Regions from separate parts of the Homo sapiens genome. Here all the other regions are linked to region 3. Evidence: promoter capture Hi-C in 16 types of primary human blood cells and fetal thymus (Javierre and others, 2016). All regions are on one chromosome and are shown on one strand. Each heading gives the region's core, a stretch centred on a gene start or on the middle of the fragment in contact. The rest is flanking DNA. Distances are from core to core; before and after follow the strand shown.

Region 1 (2,700 bases), core at 63-2,562, 110 kb after region 3:
AATCTTTTGTTTAGTGTAGCCAACTTCATCAATGATCTGAGCTAGATCTTTTGGATAACTTGCTGCAGCTTCTTCATCAATACTCACTGCCTCACCTTGTACTTTTATGTTTTGGAGATGGCTTCTTTCCTTAAACATCATGAACCAATCTCTGCTAGCTTGCAACTTTTCTTCTACAGCCTTCTCACCTCTCTCAGCCTTCATGGAATTGAAGAGTTAAAGCTTTGCTCTGGATTAGGCTTTGGGTTAAGAGAATGTTGTGGCTGGTTAGATCAGACTACTGCAACTTTCTTAATATCAGCAATAAGGCTGTTTTGCTTTCTTATTATTCATATGTTCACTGGAATAATGGCAAAAGGGCCCATGCCCTAGTTGAGTCATTTTCCTTCAAATAGCCTTCCCGGATGTCAAATGAATTTCATTGGCCAGAATTTAGTTACACTGGCCATTCCTAATTGCAAAGGAGTCCTGAGAAATGTAGTCTTTCAGCTAGGCAGTTGCTCCTATGGATGGAGCTATGGGAGAATGAACAGCAGGTGGCAACAAGCTGCCAATTACCTGTTTATTTTTATTGATATTGCTTTTCTTTTGTTTCTGTCTCTCTCTTTCTCTCTTCTTTCTTTTCTCTATCTCCTCTCTCTTTCTCTCTTTCTTCCTCCCCTTCTCTCTTTCTTTCTTCCTTTCAGATGAGGGTCTTGATATGTTGCCCAGGCTGGACTCAAACTCTTAGACTCAAGTTATCCTCCTCATGCCTTAGCCTCCAGAGTAGCTGGGACTACTGGTGTACCTCCATGCCTGCTTGGTCTGGTTTTTAAATCTTTGACACTCTGCCCTGAGATTGCATATAGCCAAAGTTACTCTTCATGTTGTTGCTCTCTTCTTTGGGTTTTACTTTCTTTGTCTGAAAAAACGATATTAATCAAATTTAAAGAGATATGAAAATCAACAGGAAGGCAATTGGAAAGATTATATATATATATAATATATATTTTGATGTGTGTGTATATATATGTGTGTGCGTGTATATATATATGTGTGTGTGTGTGTGTGTATATATATATATATATATATATATATATATATATATCAAAAAAGTTAACAAACAACTAATAGGTGGGGCAAAATAAATGTTTACCCAGCCCCAAGTGCCTGGAAAAAGGATATTCTGAAGGGAAGATTTCAGCTTCCACTAAATGATGAGGTTTTTCCCCTTAGCATCGCAACCTCTCCCAGGGAGGTGAATTATTCTTCTTAGGTCACTGAGGGACCTCTAAGTGCTTAGCTCTTATGTAACTTTGAAAAACTGAGTAGGCATTAAAGATAATCTTCATGCCTGTTACATTACCCTAGGAAACAATTTACATTTTAGACTACACGTGATTTGCATTCTTTAAATCTCCCTCATTATTACTGGATTATGCTAAAACATTGGCTGCTAGGTCTAAACAATAATGCTTAATGTACTATGAACTTTTTATACTTTCATTCATTCACTCAATAGCCATTTATTAAGTAGTCATTATGTGTTGGGCATTCGGGTTTTTGCTGTAGACACAAAACACAAAGTTCCTTCCCTCATGGAGCTTGTATTATAGTGTGTGTGAGGTGCCATTGTTGAAGGACATACTCATAAACCAGTAAACAAGTGAACGAGAAAGTTCCAGGTAGTGAACAGTGCTATACATACAGCAGGAGGATGTGGTAGAGTGTGACTGAGAGGGAGGGACTGCTTTAGAAGGGGACGTCTTCCTTGAAGAGCTAAGACACGAATGTGAGACAAAGTCACTGACAAACACATGATTTACAATGAGCACTTATTTCATGGATTTGAGCTTCTCCTACCACACAAATCATGAAGATTCAATTTTCACTTAAATCAAGTACCAGCAAAAAACTATCAGCTAAAGGTAACATGTTCAGGAATACTGAAGATTAGATTGTTTACAATATTAGATTTATTTTGAAACACAAACAGCTCCCAGTAGGTGTGGCTTCAAAATGAAATGATTCAGATACCCTCTTGCTTGATCTCTATGCTAATTACTTCTGGGATATGGAATATCTGAGTAATCTCACTTGACTGCTAGAGTATAACATTATCAGCAAACTTGCAAGGGGAATTCTGTGTAAAAACAAATCCATTCTAATTGTTCTTTGAAGAAAAACTTTTATATTTGTGATTCACGATAAAATCACTCTTGTATAGGCAAAGCTGACAGCTGCCCTGAGCAAAGCAAATTTGATTAGACGTTCCAGTGGCTAGAATACATTTATTCATTCAGTGTTTATAATTGAAACATGAATGTTGCTTATCTCCTGCCGTGAATTTAAAACATACGAGACTTCAGGTTTGATCCCTGATATGTAAAAAATTCAACAACAAAAACACCAATCAAGCTTCAATTATAAGTATAGATTTTTGAAAAATTGTACTCGATTTTCATTATAACATAATTCTGTCACTAATTAGAGCGAAGTTTGTTTGGATCTCTTCAAAATTTGAAGAGTTGAAATTCCAAAGGCAGAATAACAGCATATGGGAGAAGAAGCTACCAGTGAGATGGCTTCATGTCAAAAGGATGTGCTATCAATTCAGGAACCAATGAACTTTGAAAAACAGAACCATGCATGAGTAATACAGAGTAGAATCTGGACCTGGATAGGAATTCTAGCCTCAGAAAGTGAAACATAGGAGGAGGT
Region 2 (2,700 bases), core at 168-2,667, 91 kb after region 3:
TTCCTGGTCCTTCACTTGCTCAGATTCTGTGGGTGCTGGGACTTACAGAGAGTTAAAGGGTGACCTAAGCGGAAGGGGAAGCCAGATTGTAAGCAGGATGCATCCATATAAAAGCATTTATGATAAATTGCCTAAAGAGATGTCACAAGTAAGGGACCTGAATCTCCTAGCCTCTGGTAGTTGGTAGTTTGTAGTGATTTATTTTCTCACTGCAAATGGTCATTTTAATAACTACTCTATTTCTGAAGCTTCTTGCTGGTACTGGTGCCTCTGCCTGTCCTGGCATCCAGGTCACATTTGTAGATTCTTTTTACCTGTCTCTAGATCCAGCGAGCAGTTGGCATCTGGTATCCAGGAGATGGCACAGTGTGGCAAAAAAAAGCTCTGTACACATTTATACAGCACTTATTGCAGCACAAATTGACACAATCTTTCTGCAGGCAATTTAGCCAGATATAAGTCTTGCAAAATTTATACTTGTGTAAGAGATAGGTCTGGGTTCAGCTTCAAATAACTGAAACCCCAAATAATAATGGTTTAAAAAAGATGGTTATATCACTGTCATGCGAAATTCCAAGAGTGGTCCAGAGTTGTGATGTGTGTGAGCTCCAAAAGGGACTTGGTTTTCTTCCAGTTCAATCATGAACCAAGATGAGAGAACTACTTTCCCGGGAGCAGGATGGAGTGTATCCAATGAAGAATGTGTCCAATGGAGAAACAAAGGCCACATAATACCTCTGTCTAAGGAAGGGACCTGGAAGCTGCCACATAATAGTTTTGCTCATATCTCACTGAGGAGACTTCAATCACATAGCCACTCTTAGCTGCAAGGGACACTGGAAAATGTAGTCTACTCCTGATGGTCATGTGTCTGGCTAAAACTTTTGGAAGAAGGGAGAAAGAATAATAGGGAACAATTAATACTGTTCTGTGCCTTGCCTATTTTACTTTATATATCTTGGCAATGATTCAATGTTAGTACTTAAGGAGAATCCTTATTTTTATTATTTTTTAATTTTAATTTTTTTTTTTTTTTGAGATGGAGTCTCGCTCTGTCCCCCAGGCTGGAGTGCAGTGGTGCCATCTTGGCTCTCTGCAATCTCCGCCTCCTGGGTTCAAGCGATTCTCATGCCTCAGCCTCCCGAGTAGCTGGGACTACAGGCATGCACCACCATGCCTGGCTAATTTTTTTTTGTATTTTTTGTAGAGACGGTGGTCTCACTATGTTGCTCAGGCTGGTCGCGAACTCCAGAGCTCAGGCGATTTGCCCACCTCAGCCTCCCAAAGTGTTGGGATTATGGGCGTGAGCCACTGCACCTGGCATTTTTATTTTTATTTTTTAAGGCTGAATAATAATACTCCATTGTTTTATAGTATCAACAATTCTTTTATTTTTTTTTGAGATGTGGTCTCATGCTGTCACCCAGGTTGGAGTGCAGTGGCTGATCTCGGCTCACCACAACCTCCACCTCCCAGGCTCAAGCGAGCCTCCCACCTCAGCCTCTCAAGTAGCTGGGATTACAGGCATGCACCACCATGCCCAGCTAATTTTTGTACTTTGTTTGTAGAGATGGGGTTTCACCATGTTGCCCAGGCTGGTCTTGAATTCCTGAACTCAAGCCATCCATCAGTCTTGGCTTCCCAAAGTGCTGGGATTACAGGCACAAACTACCACACCTGGCCACCAATCCCTCACTGATGGATGGTTTCAGTAGTTCCCAAATTTGCGTTGTTAAAAATATCACTGCAATGAGTAACCTTGCACATAGGTAGTTTCACATATATGTGAGTATATCTGTAGGATAAGTTCCCAGATGTGGAATTGCAGGAAATTTGTAATTCTGGTTGATTATTGCTAAATTGCCCTCATTAGAATTGTTGCAATGAAAAGCTCAGTATCGGTCGGGCAGAGTGGCTCACACCTGTAATCCCAGCACTTGGGGAGGCTGAGATGGGAGGATTGCTTGAGTCTAGGGGTTCAAGACTGGTGTGGGCAAGACCCCATCTCTAGAAAAAATTTAAAAACTTAGCCAGGTGTAATGGCGCATGTCTGTGGTCCCAGCTATATGGGAGGCTGAGGTGGGACGATCACTTTAGCCCAGGAGATTGAGGCTGCACTGAGCTGTGTTCATGCCACTGCACTCCAGTCTGGTTGACAGAGTGAGACCCTGTCTCAAAAACAACAACAACAACAACAACAACAACTCAATATCAACAATAAGCCTTTCCAACATAGCATTTTATGAAACTTTTAAATCTTTCCCTGTCTCGTAGGTAATATGCAATTTTACAAATGAAAAATAGTGCTATGATTAAAAACTTAAGAGTAGCAGAATATGCAAACCCAAAATATGCCACTTTGGCATGAAGATTATTTTGAGCTGAAGGCAACTGAGAGGAAGCAGATACAAGAAAAGTTCTCTGCCCTTCCTTTACTTACCTAAAAGCAAGAAGTGAATTTGTAAAGGTGTCCTCTTGTCCCAGGAAGGATAAAAGGTACAAACAATTTTAAACTCTTGTTACTTTTTGCTACAGTGTTTTCCAGAAAGATGTGCTAATTTTCTCATTCCCATCTAACAAAGCTTAAAAAGAGATTAAATAGATTGTAAAGAGGTAAGGTGCAGTAGGTAGGAAGATAGCTTTTAACACACCGGAGTTTGAGTTGGATTCTTTTAGAGCCTCTGAATAGTATTGTTTTTT
Region 3 (2,700 bases), core at 40-2,539:
AAACACACAGCAGGCATCCCATACACACGGCTAAAGTAAATATGGTCAAATATTAAGAACAGCTGAATTTAAGGGGTGGGTATACAGACAACAATCAATACTGCACTTTCAACTTTTCAAAACATAATGTTGAAAAAATGTTTAAATAAATAGGTCATAAAAACCAAGTCCTCCATACCCCAAAGTCACCAGGTCAGTATTCTCCGGAATGACTTCTGGATCCTCACCGTCCTCAAGGCATTTCAGTTTATCAAGGCTAAAACAAAAAGGAAAAGCAATACTTTAAGGTCGACTCTGCATCTGGTTCACAGCGAGTTAGGGTTGTTTTCCTAAATACATTACTGAATTACGAAGTCAGATAAAATCCAGCAGGCGGCTCAGAGAGGCCAGAACTTAAGACAACGATTTCTGTGATTATATTTTATAATGAAAAGGCCGATGAAGGCAGCCAGTACTGTTAAATGGAGAAAGAGATTAAAGTTATTTTTATATTTTCATCCCCAAATAAGGCACTTTTAAGAAATATTTCAGTAACAGAATACCCGGAAGGTCCCCAAAAGAAACCAGTTAGTCGGGGTTTTAACACTCCTCTGATGAAGTCTCCCGCAGCTTCACCATTACTCAGGTTCCTCCATTGTCAAAGTGTCTGTCAATGGCAGGTACACGTCGCTGTTGCCCTGATTGCTTTTCTTTATTAACAAGCACTCTTAGAATAAGCAAATGGAAAAACTAGTCTTTGATGCAGCTGTCTTGTCCCTTTGCTCCAACTCGTAGAAACTGTGCATTCGGGTCCCAGGACTTCTCCTGGTGTCCCAGGAAGGCTCCAGCGGGTTGAAAGCTTTAAAGGGTAATACTCCTAGCCCAGGTCTAAACCACAGGCCCTTCTCAGGGATGAGTCCCAGAGGAGCGCACGAGCAAGGCTGCACCCTGTTTGACCCCAAGCTGCAAGAGCCCCTTTGCTCCGCACTCACCCGCACACCGCCCTCAGCTCAGCCGCCGCCTCCAGGCTGCAGTCCAGATCCCTGGCCACCGCGGCATCCTCCCGGTCGGAGTCAGCTGCCTGGCTCCCAGGCAGAGCGGATGCCGGCGGCTCCCTCAGCGACAAGTCCCCGGCCCCGCGCAGACGGCCCCGCCACAGCTCCCCAAAGGCGCCCACATGGAAAGCGCGCGTATTTAGCTCGGGAAGCTCATACTCTGGAAAGTTGCAGCCGCCACTGCCGGAGACTGGGTCCTGCCTGCCACCCACCCCGCTACACGTAGGGCCACCTCGGCTTCCTTCAGCCATGTTCGCCCCACTCCTTCCCCTGCAAAAGCCTGCAGATCAAGGCCTCGCAGAGCGTGATGGAAGTTGTAGTTGCTTGGGGCGCCCGGCCGGCGAGCGGCGAGGCGGCGCGGGCAGGGCATCAGAAACTACATTTCCCGGCAGGCCATGGGCAGGCCCGCCCCAGGGCGCGGCACCGCGAGGCTCTACGTGCAGGGCGCAGCATTGTTCTCCGACCCGGGCGGTGCGGGAACCGTTGCGGCTGTCGGTTAACCGCAGCGGGTGGGGCTGGGTTTCTGGTCCCCGAGTTACGTAGCAACTGTCTCTGCCCGGTAGGGCGGCCTCGCCAGGCGCTTAGGCCCCGTTCCTTGCGGCTTTCGGACTAAGGGGTGCAGGGCTTTTTCTTGACTGGGGTTCAAGGACTGCTCTGCTGCCTGATTGCTTTAGAGCCTAAGAAACAAGGAGGGCGAGGGCCGAGACCAGGGACACGACCAGCCCTCCAGATCTGGTTCTTTCACAAGCTCCGCAGAGGCCCCATGTTGGTGTGCGTGTGCAGTAGTGTTTCAGAGCGTCTGTGTATCACACGCTACATGATTAACCCTAATGTATGTTTTTAATGTTTTTAAAAATTACAACAACCTTTCCGGATAGGGCGTATCACCCCGTGTTGCTGTTGAGGAAGGATTTACCTGCGGGGAAAATAGAAGCAGGATCGGAACTCAGTCTGGCTTCAGATGGAGCTCTCTCCATTTCTCAGAGGCCCTGAAGGATACAGCAGGACATACTATTTATTTATTAGACTGTAATCACATGCCATATAATTCACCCATTTGAAGTGTTCAGTGATTTTTGGTATATTCACAGGCTTGGGCAACCATCACCACTATTTGAGAGCATTTTTACCACTCGAAAGAAGAAACTTGTACTTTTTAGCTATCACCCCTGATCCTCCCAACTCCTCCAGCCCTAGCCAACCAAGAACCTACTTTGTCTCTCTAGATTTAACTAATCTGGACATTTAATATAAACGGAATTATATGGTCTTTTGGTGGCTGGCTTAATGTTTACAAGGTTTGTTACAGGTAGTTAGGCATGAGCAGGGCAGGAGAGGGCTCTTCCCTCACCCACTAGGAATGTGGGGTGATGCTTAGGCATTTATCACATTGCCTCTAAAAGTGATAAATTGGCAGCCGGTGCCAGGGAGAGGCCATTTCCTGATGGCCCACACCTGTTGCACTAAAGTGCTCGTTGAATGCAGGTGACAGGGAGAAGCAACTTCCTGGGCATATGCATTAAGAGACAAAATCGGGGAGTATGACCTTTCAGGGGGACTCTATCGGAAAAGGGAAGAAAGCCTCAGATGGGCACGCATACAACTTCATACATATTGCGCTGTGCTCACTTCCCAAGGGTAAGGAGGGCACTGCGCATGGAGGCAG
Region 4 (2,700 bases), core at 34-2,533, 73 kb before region 3:
GATGTGATAGTACATTACTACTCTACTTTTTATTGTCACATATTCCATTATATTGATTTACCATATTTATTCATCACTTGATAGACATTTGAGTTATTTTTACTTTTGGCTTTTATGAATAATGCTGTGAACATTTGTGTCCAAGTTTTTTTGTGAACATAAGTTTTCATTTCTCTAGGAGAAAATTCCTGGGTCAGATGTAATTTCACGTTTAACGTTTTGAGAAAACTCTCAGACTTGCCAAATCAGCTGCACCGTTTAACATTCCCACCAGCAATTGTAGGAGGGTTCCAATTTCTCCACATCCTTGCCAACACTTGTTATTATTTGTTATTTTTTGGCCGTCTGAGTGGGAGTGACGGTAGTATATTGTGATTTTTGATTTACATTTCCTGGATAACTTAATGATGTTGAATTATGTGAACTAAAAAAAAGTGTGCGAATTTAAAAATCTTCTGTACTTAACATGAATTTACATTTGTAAAAGTCTTTTCAGTTGGAAGAACATAGTTATTTAATTTTTGGTATATTAAGATACGTGAATTTATGTATGACATCAGTTGAACCATTATGGTTAATAATGAAAGGTACAACTTGTAAATCTGAATCTGGGAGTAGGAGCAAGGGGTGAATTTTTTTAAAAACCTACTTAGCAAAGTTAAGAATAAAAAACAATTGTAGTGAAAAGGTACACGTAAAATGAGGTGGTGTGAATAAAACTAAATGTAAACATTACATTTTATGAATGAATATAGTTCTGTTAAGACTTTCTGTTTTAATAAACCACTTTGCTATGTCTTATTTTGTGAGACAAAGCTCAAACAAAACAAGAGCAAGCAATGATACAATGTCACAAAGAAAGCAGGAATGGCAATACTGCTGTCTGTTAAAAGTGGAATTTAAACTCAAAGCTTGAAGAGAGAAGGGTATATATAGGCAGTCCTTAGCTTTACATAGTTCCTGTAGGCACAAATTTCAATTGCCATGACTTAGCTAAGTAACAGTCCACTAACAACATGGTTAAAATTTCACCTACCCTGCCATATTAACTAATTGTATAAACTACAACATTTGCTGCTAGTCTTTCAACCTACAAATTAAGATGTAAATGACAGGTGCATATAATGTCACTTTTAAAGCTTCTTGGTGATTGGTCACCATGCATTGGTTTCTCAAAATCATGCACAGTCGGATGTATAGTTGGCCTCTGTCTCCTAATGATGTCCCCATGTGACAGTTTACCAAAATAAACAAGGAAATTGGTCAACAAAGATGATAGTGCAGCAAAAATCCTAATGCTAGATGGGAAATTTGAATTTAACATAAATGGAATAATAGAATAAATAGCTTACCTTGTGAATATAGATGGTTTGCAGTTGGAGAGACACTAATTGTCCAGCCAGAGAAACTTAGTGAAGGCAAGCTTATCAACATAAATGAAAAAGGTAGTTGTAATGGAAAATATGAAGATATCCTATTAATAGAAGTGATACCAACAAAAAACATTGAGGATATTTCACATCATTGAAAGCATGAAGGATAAAATATTGGAATGTGATCTAAACTTAGGAGTATGACAGTTTGCCAAGGCATAGAAGATAGACGCATTCCATATCATAATAAATATCACTAGAAGAAGGCAAGCACTGTTCAAACTATTCTTGATAGATTTTTTTTAATACAAAGAAATGATACACTTTAATATCAGTGTTCCTAATGTTTTAAGTTACAGCATACTAAGTTGGTATTGGTTTTACTATTTCATTTCCTTATGCATTTACATAACCGTCAGTAATAGACTACTTAATATTCTGACAAATTTTAAAGGTCACAGAACAATCGTAACTTTTCCCATTGATTATTAAGATTGCCTTGCATGGTCCTTTTTAAGAACTGCTTTTTTTGAGGTTAAGAAAAATGATTCATGTAAAAAAATTTATCTTTTATACAGTAACTTTGTGGTAGATCAGTCTTCTGTGGCTTTTAGACTTAGAGCCATATCTTTAAAAAAAAATAAATATTTGAGGTTTTAAAACATTTTCCTGTAATTATTTTTGAGGTCTTTTCCTACTCCTGAAGTTCCTGGTCACCCCAATTTTGAGCCCTTTGGGGATTTTAAATTGTAAATGAGGGTGCTTAAGATTCAACTTCTTTAGTTGTCTTTTTAGCTTCCAAATTTTATTTTTGCCTTGTTTGGTTTTAAGAGTTTATACTTTTAAAATAATCTCTTTACTGTTGTTTTTCTGGTTTTTCAGGAGGGAGAATTTGTGTTGAATTGGGTTTGTTCTGACCAGAAATACGTTTTCATGGAGGTTTAACTCAAGTCATTTACTTGGAATTTGAAACCTGTTACATAAGAGGAATGTTATACTGTTAGAGCTAAATGTGTTAATTTTTCTAATTTGAGATTATGGACAGGAATTAATGATGTCTAGTAAAATCTTCAGTTTTTGATGGAATGAGATGATTTCAGTTTAACTCCAAAGTAAATTTGGTAAATTATTGGTTTGCCTTAATCCTAGCATAATAATATTACTTTGAAAATGGGATGTGCAGTTAAAATACATGGATACAATGAATGTTACAGAATTTAAATAATAAAGCTGACTTTTATATACCCTGATTTTTTATATATGTGTGTGTGTGTATTTTTTTTTTTTTTTTTTTTTTTTTTTTGAGATGCAGTTTTGCTCTTGTTGC

The links. The method cuts DNA at HindIII sites, captures the fragments that hold promoters and counts their contacts. A CHiCAGO score of 5 or more calls a contact.
Region 1: a fragment that was not itself captured here is called in contact with the fragment with the promoter of SNAPC3 in region 3 in 13 of 17 cell types (activated CD4 T cells, total CD8 T cells, naive CD4 T cells and 10 more); the score reaches 16.6 in activated CD4 T cells.
Region 2: a fragment that was not itself captured here is called in contact with the fragment with the promoter of SNAPC3 in region 3 in 2 of 17 cell types (M1 macrophages and naive B cells); the score reaches 5.4 in M1 macrophages.
Region 4: a fragment that was not itself captured here is called in contact with the fragment with the promoter of SNAPC3 in region 3 in 7 of 17 cell types (total CD8 T cells, non-activated CD4 T cells, total B cells and 4 more); the score reaches 7.6 in total CD8 T cells.

The regions. Positions count from the first base shown.
Region 1 is chr9:15,309,658-15,312,357 of GRCh38, reverse strand. No RefSeq gene overlaps it. Among named protein-coding and RNA genes, the nearest start is that of TTC39B, 3.8 kb to the right of the region's middle. The HindIII fragment of the contact is 2,175 bases long and covers 225-2,399 here.
Region 2 is chr9:15,330,831-15,333,530 of GRCh38, reverse strand. No RefSeq gene overlaps it. Among named protein-coding and RNA genes, the nearest start is that of TTC39B, 25 kb to the right of the region's middle. The HindIII fragment of the contact is 2,334 bases long and covers 251-2,584 here.
Region 3 is chr9:15,421,465-15,424,164 of GRCh38, reverse strand. SNAPC3 (small nuclear RNA activating complex polypeptide 3) reads right to left here and starts at 1,289. Exons shown (of 9, transcript NM_001039697.2): 1 at 972-1,289; 2 at 179-256. The coding sequence starts at 1,285. RefSeq lists an enhancer at 813-932 and a silencer at 1,273-1,562. The HindIII fragment of the contact is 2,004 bases long and covers 841-2,700 here.
Region 4 is chr9:15,494,542-15,497,241 of GRCh38, reverse strand. All of the region lies in intron 3 of PSIP1 (PC4 and SRSF1 interacting protein 1), which reads left to right. Among named protein-coding and RNA genes, the nearest start is that of PSIP1, 15 kb to the left of the region's middle. The HindIII fragment of the contact is 284 bases long and covers 1,142-1,425 here.